2 separate regions of the Homo sapiens genome follow, and region 1 is linked to region 2. The links are contacts of gene promoters, found by promoter capture Hi-C in blood cells and fetal thymus (Javierre and others, 2016). All regions are on one chromosome and are shown on one strand. Each heading gives the region's core, a stretch centred on a gene start or on the middle of the fragment in contact. The rest is flanking DNA. Distances are from core to core; before and after follow the strand shown. Region 1 has its middle 5.6 kb from the start of SRSF5. Region 2 holds the start of MED6 (mediator complex subunit 6).

Evidence for each region. Contacts are between HindIII fragments. The CHiCAGO score rates a contact against its expected background, and 5 or more counts as called.
Region 1: a fragment that was not itself captured here is called in contact with the fragment with the promoter of MED6 in region 2 in 1 of 17 cell types (fetal thymus); the score reaches 5.6 in fetal thymus.

What each region holds. Positions count from the first base shown.
Region 1 is chr14:69,759,127-69,763,981 of GRCh38, reverse strand. No RefSeq gene overlaps it. Among named protein-coding and RNA genes, the nearest start is that of SRSF5, 5.6 kb to the left of the region's middle. The HindIII fragment of the contact is 6,711 bases long and covers 1-4,855 here.
Region 2 is chr14:70,597,875-70,602,780 of GRCh38, reverse strand. It overlaps MED6 (mediator complex subunit 6), which reads left to right and starts at 2,126. Exons shown (of 8, transcript NM_005466.4): 1 at 2,126-2,165. The coding sequence starts at 2,144. RefSeq lists an enhancer at 1,425-2,624. The HindIII fragment of the contact is 992 bases long and covers 1,280-2,271 here.

The DNA of each region.
Region 1 (4,855 bases), core at 325-2,824, 840 kb after region 2:
TCATCACTGATTCATATATGTTATTCATGTTTTCCAGAAATGCACAGCACCAAAAAGACTCAATATTTATAGACCTGGATTTGCATGAGCATTTTTTTCAGGTCGTCCTATTCCTATATTAATGTTTCAACAAAATGGCTTGGCATCTTTTTCTTAAGACATCCAAATTAGAAGCAAATCTTTTTTTTTTTTTTTTTGGAGACGGAGTCTCTCTCTGTCACCCAGGCTGGAGTGCAGTGGTGTGATCTTGGCTCACTGCAACCTCCGCCTCCCGGGTTCAAGCAATTCTCCCGCCTCAGCCTCCCGAGTAGCTGGGACTACAGGCACACGCCACCATGCCTGGCTAATTTTTTGTGTTTTAGTGGAGTGGTTGTGGGGGAACAAAAGAAGAAGAATATCTGATAGCACATGAAAATTATATGAAATTTAAAGGTCAGTATCCATAAATGAATAAATTTTTGGAACACAGCCACTCCTGTTCATTTACTTATTGCCTATATCTGTTGTGCTACAAAGGCGGGGCTGAGTAGCTACGGTAGAGGCCATATGGCCTGAAAGCCTAAAATATTTACTGTCTGGTCCTTTACAGAAAACATTTGCTGATGGGGTGGGGTAGATAAGAGAGATTGATTAGTAAGTACAAACATACAGTTAGATAGAAGGAATAAGATCTAATATTCAATCGCAGAATAGGGGACTATATAAACAACAATGTATTTTATATTTTAGAACAGCTAGAAGAGAGGACTTAAAATGTTCCCAACACATAGAAGTGATAAACCCACAAAGTAATGAATATCCTAAATACTCTGACTTGATCATTACACATCCTATGCATGTAATAAAATATTTCATATGCCCCCAAGTATGTAGAAATTATATGTATCAATAGAAAAATTTTAAATTATTTTTAAAAATCATTTTCTGACCCTTGAACTGATTCCTAGATTTTCAACTGCTCTATGAATGCTCCACCCAACCCCCTTTGTCAGATAATAAAACTGTAAACAAAGAAAAACTGAAAACAAAGAAACAGGATTTGATCTTTATTTTTAAAATAAAGTTTGATTCCTGTTATAAAAAGAAGTATACATATATGCTTATTATAGGAAAAATGTTCAACAGGAAAATATTGAAAGAGGAAAACACAATCCTGTTTCACCAAGTCAACCTCTGATTGTAGTTTGTTGTATTTCCTTCTTGTGGGGTTTTTTTTTTTCTGTTTCATGTTTTTCAGTACAAAAGTAGTACCTCATCTTTTTTTTTTTTTAGACATATTCTCGCTCTGTCGCCTGGCTGGAGTGCAGTGGCGTGACCTCGGCTCACTGCATCCTCTGCCTGGCGGGTTCAAGTGATTCTCCTGCCTCAGCCTCCCCAGTAGCTGGGACTACAGGCACATGCCACCACGCCCAGCTAATTTTTTGCATTTTTTAGTAGAGACAGGGTTTCACCATATTGGCCAAGCTGGTCTCAAACTCCTGACCTCATGATCTGCCCACCTCAGCCTCCCAAAGGGCTGGGATTATAGGCGTGAGCCACTGTGCCCGGTCAAAAATATTGAAAGAATGAAACACAACCCTGTCTCAGCAACTCAACCTCTGATTGTAGTTTGCTGTATTTCCTTTTTGTGGGTTTTTTTTTTCTGTTTAATGTTTTTCAATAAAAAAGTAGTACCTCATCGTTTTTTAAAACATAGATATGAGATTTTTAAAAGTCATCCCTATTCCCAGCCCCTAAGAGAAAACTACTTAGCATTATTGAACTTTCCCTTTCGTGTTCTTCTATAAGAACAATTGTGTTTTCAAAATATGAATCATCGTCATACATATACTTGGTTTTATGAGGGCTTCTTAATTCCTAAAACTTAACCATGTGCATTTGCCATGTTTCTTTGTCTTAATATTTTATGATCATGAGTATATATTCAAATTTTTACTGTTATTTTCACTTTACACAACTACATGCTTGGGGAAAATATTCATTCTGACCAACTTTTCTGTTTTTCTGAAAATGTCTTAAATGTCAGCAGATGCTTAAAAATTGCTATCCAAAAAATCCCAACACGAAGAAAAAGTGTTACTTCCTTGCCTCTACCTTATAATTCTAAAGATTTTTCAAAAGAATAACTATATTTAAGTAATTTCTCTTAGAAATATATGGGGTTTGTTAATGTCCAGTTTTTTACTCAGGTTCACCTTTATATACCTACCTGACTTCCTTAGATTGTTACATTCTGATTTTTGTTGTTGTTGTTTAACTCAGTGTACAATATTTAAAATACCTATGAACTTACTAATTTGAGTGCCTAGATCAGAAGGCATCCCATAGCAAGGAGTGTGTAAGAGACAGAGCAACAAAGGGCTGAACTCACTTTCTTTTTTTTTGAGACAGAGTCTCACTCTGTTGCCCAGACTGGAATGCAGTGACACGATCTCAGCTCACTGCAAGCTCCGCCTCCCGGGTTCACACCAGTCTCCTGCCTCAGCCTCCCGAGTAGCTGGGACTACAGGTGCCCACCACCATGCCCGGCTAATTTTTTTTTTTTTTTTTTAGTGGAGACGGGGTTTCACCATGTTAGCCAGGATGGTCTCGATCTCCTGACCTCGTGATCCACCTGCCTCGGCCCCCCAGAGTGCTGAGATTACAGGCGTGAGCCACCGCGCCCGGCCTAAACTCACTTTCATGAGAAACCCACTCTCTCAATAACAAACCCACTCCCATTATAACGGCATTAATCCATTCACGAGGGCAGAGCCTTCATGACCTAATCACCTCTTAAAGGTCCTACCTCTCAACACTGTTACATTGGGGATTAAGTTTCCAATACACAAAGTTTAGCCAACACATTCAAACCATAGCAGCACTCAAGGATTTATGAAAAAGAGAAGTAACCAGACAAGGGCCATATCTACCCAAGGACCACCCCCTAATGCCTACCCTCTAAAACTCCTCCACCCCCACAAGCTATCAGGAACTGGAAACTGACTAATTACTGGGCTATTTCCTTTTTTGATATCAAGAGGGAAGCCTCAAAAGCATGAACTCCCTAAAGCAATTCGTAACAGTGCCATTGTAGAGACCCTGCCAAATCAGCCCCAATCCTGGGAATTATTCCTTCCCTGATATAATTATTAGGGGCAAGGTACACAGAATTAATCCAGTGAAGAACATTTGATACCTTATCTGTTCTATAAATCAGACCACCCACAAGTGGGCCATGTTTAGTCCAGAAAAAAGTGGCTTACTCTTGCACAAAAAGTATGGAAGGGAATGGGAAGCTCTGCCATATTTTTCTTCCTGGCTACTGTACCTAAAACAAAGTGTCCTCTTTTAAGAGCTTGGATATTGAGTACTCATCCAAATGGGCCATGGCTTGGGTTAAGGAGAATTGAACTAAGATATCCCACTGCTGAAGCAATTAGACCATCCTGTTGAGCTCTGTAGAGAATTGGTTGAATTCACAGCGAAATACCTTTAGGAATACAGGGCTACAGAAACCAGGAGCCTGACTAAAAGCCAGTATCTTAGTCTGTTTGTCCTGCTATAACAGAATACCACAGACTGAGTAATTTATAAAGAAAAGAAATGTATTTCTCACAGTTCTGGAGGCTGGGAGTCCAAAACCAAGGTGCCAGCATCTGATGAGAGCTACTCTCTGTTTCCAAGATGTCACCTTCAATGCTGCACCTTCTAGAGGAGAGGAAAGTTGTGTCCCCACATGGCAGAAGACAAAAAGGCAAGAGGAGTAAGTTCCCTCCAACAACCTCCTTTATAACATCATTAATTCGTTCATGAGGGTGGAGCTCTCATGACCTAAACCCTCCCCAAAGGCCCCATCTCTCAACATTGTTGAATTGGGAATTGCATTTCTAACACATTAATTTTGGGAGATAACTTCAGACCATAGGTGCCAGTGACCAGGAAAGGCCCAGCATCTCCATCATTAGCACATAAAACTAAGACAGCTTCTGGGTCTAGGTCTGGGGCATATAGCTACCTTGATCAGGCTGGGTATAGTCCACTCTCATGGCTTCTGCTGTCCTAATTCCTGATTAAGCCTCATGAGCTCCCAGCCAAAGACTCTATTCATAATGTCAGGGTATATTGTATAAATAGCTGAGTGTTGCTTAAAACAGAAGCAAGGAAAAAAGAAGCTGAAGGTGGACATTAGGAGGATGGTAGTAGATCTTAACTACCATGTTAATGAGCTTATACTCTACCCAGTGGGCACCAAGTAGATGCCACAAGGTTTTACACAAGAGATAACATGATCAGATTTATGTTTTAGGCGGGAAAGGCTGCGTGGGGGACGGTGGCCAAAACCAGTTAGGACTCTTTATGTAACAAGGAACAGAATCCCAGTATAACCACCTTAAGAAAAGTTTTGGCTGGGTGTGGTGCCTCATGCCTGTAATCCCAGCACTTTGGGAGGCCAAGGCAGTCAGATCACCTGAGGTCAGGAGTTCAATACCAGCCTGGCCAACATGGTGAAACTGTGTCTCTACAAAAACACAAAAGCTAGCTGGGCATGATGGTGGGTGCCTGTAATCCCAGCTACTTGGGAGGCTGAAGCGGGAGAATTGCTTGAACCTGAGAGGTGGAGGTTACAGTGAGCTGAGATTGCACCATTGCACTCCAGCCTGGGCGACAGAGTAAGACTCTGTCTCAAAAGAAAAAAAAAAAGTTGTATTTGTTGGTTAGTATAACTGAACATTTTATACACAGGCACACTGTGGGCTTGGCTTGATACAGAGTTCAAGTGGTGTCTACAGCATCCATCTCTCGGCTCTGCTTCCCCTGAGAATCAGCTTCATTCCCAGGCTGGTTCACCTTGCGTTGGCAAAATGCCTGTAGT
Region 2 (4,906 bases), core at 877-3,376:
GCCTCGTCCATAGTAAGTGGCTCAATAAGCACAACAAATACTTTTGACATCCATAAACAAATTTCCAGTCAGAACCTTTGTGGCATTCTACTCATTCAAATCTTTTAATAGCTTCCTATGTTCTTTGAATAAAAAATAAATTATTGACCAGGCTCTCTATCATCTGGCCCCTGCCTTCATTCCCAGTCTCTTTTCCCATCATTCATCCTTCACTCATACAACCCGGCTTACACTGGCCTTTCTGTGGTTCTCAGACCAACCCCTTTCCCACTGTAGGGTCCATGGTCCCCTCTGTCTGATATGCTTGTGCCCCAGCTCTTCACATGAGTGATTTGCTTTCATCTTCCAGGTCTCATCTCAGGTATCACTTCCTCAGAGAGGCCTGTCCTGACTGTCCTACCCAAAGTGGCTTCCTCCCTATCTTGTCTTCTCTTGTTTTTGTTACCACACTTTTTAATTTATATTTCTTTATTAACTGAAACAATTAATATAAAAGAAATAGAGATGGGATCTCGCTATCTTGACCAGGCTGGTCTCCAGCTCCTGGGCTCAAGCAATCCTCCCATCTTGGCCTCCCAAAGTGCTGGGATTACAGGCGTGAGCCACCTTGCCCTGTCTTCCTCAAGTTATCTTTCTAAAATGGAAGCTTGATCACATTTCTCCCATTGCCTACAAAATAAAGGTTGAGCTTCCAGGTCTTATTTACCATGCATACCATATGTTTTATTATCTACAGATCTGCATTCTGTCACTATTCTTCCTAATCTCCTTCTAGCCTAATCAAAACACAAGGAAACAAAAAACTAGAAAAACAAAACAAAAAGCTTTATGGATCACACTTTTTATTGGACACGATACTCTTCCTTTTTGCAATGTCCTCCCACTAGGCTCCCAACCAGGCCCTCCTGAAAAATTCTCTCTCAAAACTTTACTCTGTGCATGCACATACTTCTGTTGGGACACCTATTTTATACATACCATCTCAGGCAGAAAATTCCCAAACTGAAATGTACAGGCAACGTACTTTTATTCTACGGAGTTAACAAATTTTTAATTCCTTGTCTATGAGGTTGAAAATCCCAATTAAATTTCTGGTCTTCCCCTCTTGCTCCTGGGTTGTGGTTAAATTCTTGGGGAGTCTTCACAGTACCTAAGTTTTGGAGAAGATGTAGGCACCCGCCCTCATCCCTCCTTCAGATTTTGGCATCCTCTTCCTAGTATCTGTGTGTTGTTTGCATATTTCTGTATCGTTTTGCTTTTACAGAGCCACACTGAAGCTTGAGAATCTGAGGCTTTCTGTAGCTTCCCCGTACACAGAATCATTCCCTCTTTGGAGCCTTGCTACCTACTCCAGACTACTTGGAATGCAGACATTTGCTCATTACTCTGGGACCCAGGGGTATTCCCTTTCTCTTAATCTTATTAATATTTCACTTCAGAAGCATTTCCTGTGTTGTGAAATTTTTCTCAGAGGCTTCTTTAATTGGTTTAGATTTTTAATGGATTTAGTCACATAAAAGCCAATGACTCCCAAATTCTTAAGTCCTGTCCCATCCCAATACCTGAGGCAGGGAGAAAAATATAAATGACCATCGTTCCTAAATCTGATAGCTCAGTGGATACACCCGGGGAGCTTTTAAAATTAAGAGACACTCCCAAGCACAACTCTACAGCATCAGAATTTGTTTTCTTGACGATCACAGACGATCAAGGCAGAATTCTTCCATCAGTGGTGGGCGTGGGGCGGGACTCCACTCGGTCTTTCTGTCCTCTAAGTCTTCTAATTTTTTTCCCAGTAATCCGCCCTCCCGTTCTCCTTCTTTGGCCCATCCCTCTTCTAGTCTTTCCCTGCTCCCCTGCACCAATCTTTCTGCGTCCCGTCCCCTCCCATTCCCCTACCCCACCCCACCCCACCCCACCCCACGTTTCCCGCCTCCCGCGCCTCTCCCGCTTTCCGCCCCCTCGCGTCTCCTCCCCTCCCACCCGCACCTCCACCCCCTGCCTCTCTCCTGCCCGCCCCGCCCCCTCTTCCGCTCTACGTCCCTCCTCACCCATGCGCACTCTCTTCAACCCGCTGCTTCCGGCGGCCTAGGCTTACGTTTACTTTGCGCCGGAAAGAGAACCTGTAAACGCTCTCGGAATTATGGCGGCGGTGGATATCCGAGGTATACTGTATTGCTATATTTTGTCTCTTGATTGTCTGTGGACCAGTTTGGGATGTTATAGCTCGCGGTTTCAAGGTTTAGGTTCCTTTGTGTGAAGTCTCAAGCTTTTTTGAGTGGTTTTTGTGGACAACCCAAGGCTGTGATCTAGCGAAACGTTGACGAGTTTTTTTTTTTTTCTGAGTTCTTGGAGCGTCTCTTGGAAGCGTCGGAGAGAAGGGGTTGGAAGAAGCTCTGGGTTTTGAGCTTTCAGAGCTGGAGTTTTGTTCTACACACGTATCTCTGCAACAACATTAGGGCTATTCTATTGGAGTGAAGGAATGGCGTTTAGGCAGAGAAGGGAATGGGGTAATAAGCCAACTTGATTTGATTCATCTCTTGGGACTTGGCATGGTGGCTGCCTAATTCTTTAGACCGCGCCACACGGGTCCCTGAGCATGAATCCCAGATATTTTCTTTTTTTTTGAGTCGATAATACTTTACATCGAACGTCCAGCAATTATTATGGGCAGGGGTCGTATTTTTTTCACAGCTGAACTGCAGAAGTACTCAAATATTGAATCAGTCAGTGAATAAATGTATGGAGATGTCACCCCTTAACTGCTGCTTGATCTTGGGGAGCATGTAGAGTTGTTTTTGTGTATATAGTACTTGATTTTTAAAGGGAGATGTTTGAGATGCCTTTTTTTAATATTAACTGGATTGGGGTCTAACACATTTATTACAAATATTCTCATTTATACTTATCTGGCGATCTGCAGCACTTCTGGATCATGATTTTACATACGTGTCTTTCATTATTTATTTCATCACTTGCTGATGGTTAGAATGCTGTTAGAATGCTTGGGCTATGTCAACATGTTGCCTTGCTACAGAATAAAAAAGAGAAATATTTAGTTTATAAAATGTTTTACTTATAATTCAGATTGTTAGGATCATGGCAAAGACTCTAAAATAAGAGTGTGTTTGGTGTGTTAAAGGAACAGCAAGGAGGTCAGTGTGGCTGGAGGGTAGTGAGAGAGGATGTGGGAAGGAGATGAAGTCAGAAAGGTGTTGAAAGCTATGATAAGGTCTTTGGCTTTTCCTCTGAGTAAAACGCAGAGCCATTGGAGGGGTTTCCATCAGAGGAATGATGTGATCTGACTTTTTTTTAGGACTACATTGGCTGCTGGGAACAGTGTAGGAGGGCAAGGGTAGAATTAGGAAAACCAGTTAGGAGGCCATTTCTGAAAATGTTATTTCCTGGCCTGTTGTGTATTTGGTTATTGCATGATCCAGTTATGATGAACTATCTAAATGGTCTATACTAATTATTTGGTTATTAACGCACTTCATCTGTCTCCTCCTTTATTTTATAGCACACAAAGTACATTTTACCTTTATATAATTTTTCTCGGTTGAGTCACTTGGCTCAAAACTGCCTGTCACCTTGAATTAGGTCTGACTTCTTTGAAGATGCCTGAGGTAATGACAGTATAAGAGAGATTGAAGTTTTTCAACCAGTATTGTATAGGCATTTTGATGTTCATGATTTACACCTAGTGGTGTTCAGTACAGTCAGTGGTATGAAGCATCATGAAAGCCAATAGCCAATACAAGCTCATTTATTAAAAGTATCTAGCTCTATCATGTCTTTTTAAAAGCTATGATTTAATTCTACGCTAAATATGAAACCGTGTGGCTGTAGTTAAGGGAACTCTACTTCCTGTTTATCCCTTAGCTTTTACATCATTATCATCTCATCTACAATAATAGCTTCCTAACTTCTCTATCCCTAATTGAGAGATCTCAAACTGGTAGCTATAGATGTGTTCTCTTGGGCATACATGTTATTTGAAAATTTTGAATTCCTTGCCAGCATTAAGGATTTCCAATAAAAAAAAAAGTCCTTTCTAAATTTTAAATCTTATCACTTCTTCACCTAATGAAATTATTCTCTAAAGATATAATATACTTTATATTTTTACACCTCTGTATATACATTCTCTCTGCTTGGAATTACTTTGCCCTTTTCTCTGTGTAAGTTTTTATTTATTCTTTAACATACCGTGCTAAAACCCACCTTCTCTCCACATGAAAAATGATTTTCGTTTCCCCAGGTCCTCTGTAGTCTCGTAACACATTTCTTCATGTCTTTTTTTTTTGAGACGGAGTCTCGCTCTGTCGCCCAGGCTGGAGTGCAGTGGCGCGATCTCAGCTCACTGCAACCTCCGCCTCTTGGGTCCAAGTGATTCTCCTGCCACAGCCTCCCGAGTAGCTAGGATTACAGGTGTCCACCACCATGCCCGGCTAATTTTTTGTTTTGTTTTTTTTCTTTTTTTGAGACGGAGTTTCACTCTTGTTGCTCAGGCTGGAGTCCAATGGTGTGATCTCGTCTCACCACAATCTCCGAGACCTTCTGGGTGCAAGCGATTCTCCTGTCTCAGTCTCCCAAGTAGCTGGGATTATGGGCATGCACAAACACGCCAGGCTAATTTTGTATTTTTAGTAGAGACGGGGTTTCTCCATGTTGGTCAGGCTGGTCTCAAACTCCCAACCTCAGGTGATCCACCTACCTCAGCCCCCTAAAGTGCTGGCATTACAGGCTGAGCCACCGCACCCGGCCAGAATTTTTTGTATTTTTAGTAGAGACAGGGTTTCACCATGTCTTTATCATAAGACTTAATCATGTTATTGCTTTCTTGCATAATCTCTTCTGTTACATCATGAGAGTGTGTTGGTTAGGATCTATGTCATCCTTATAT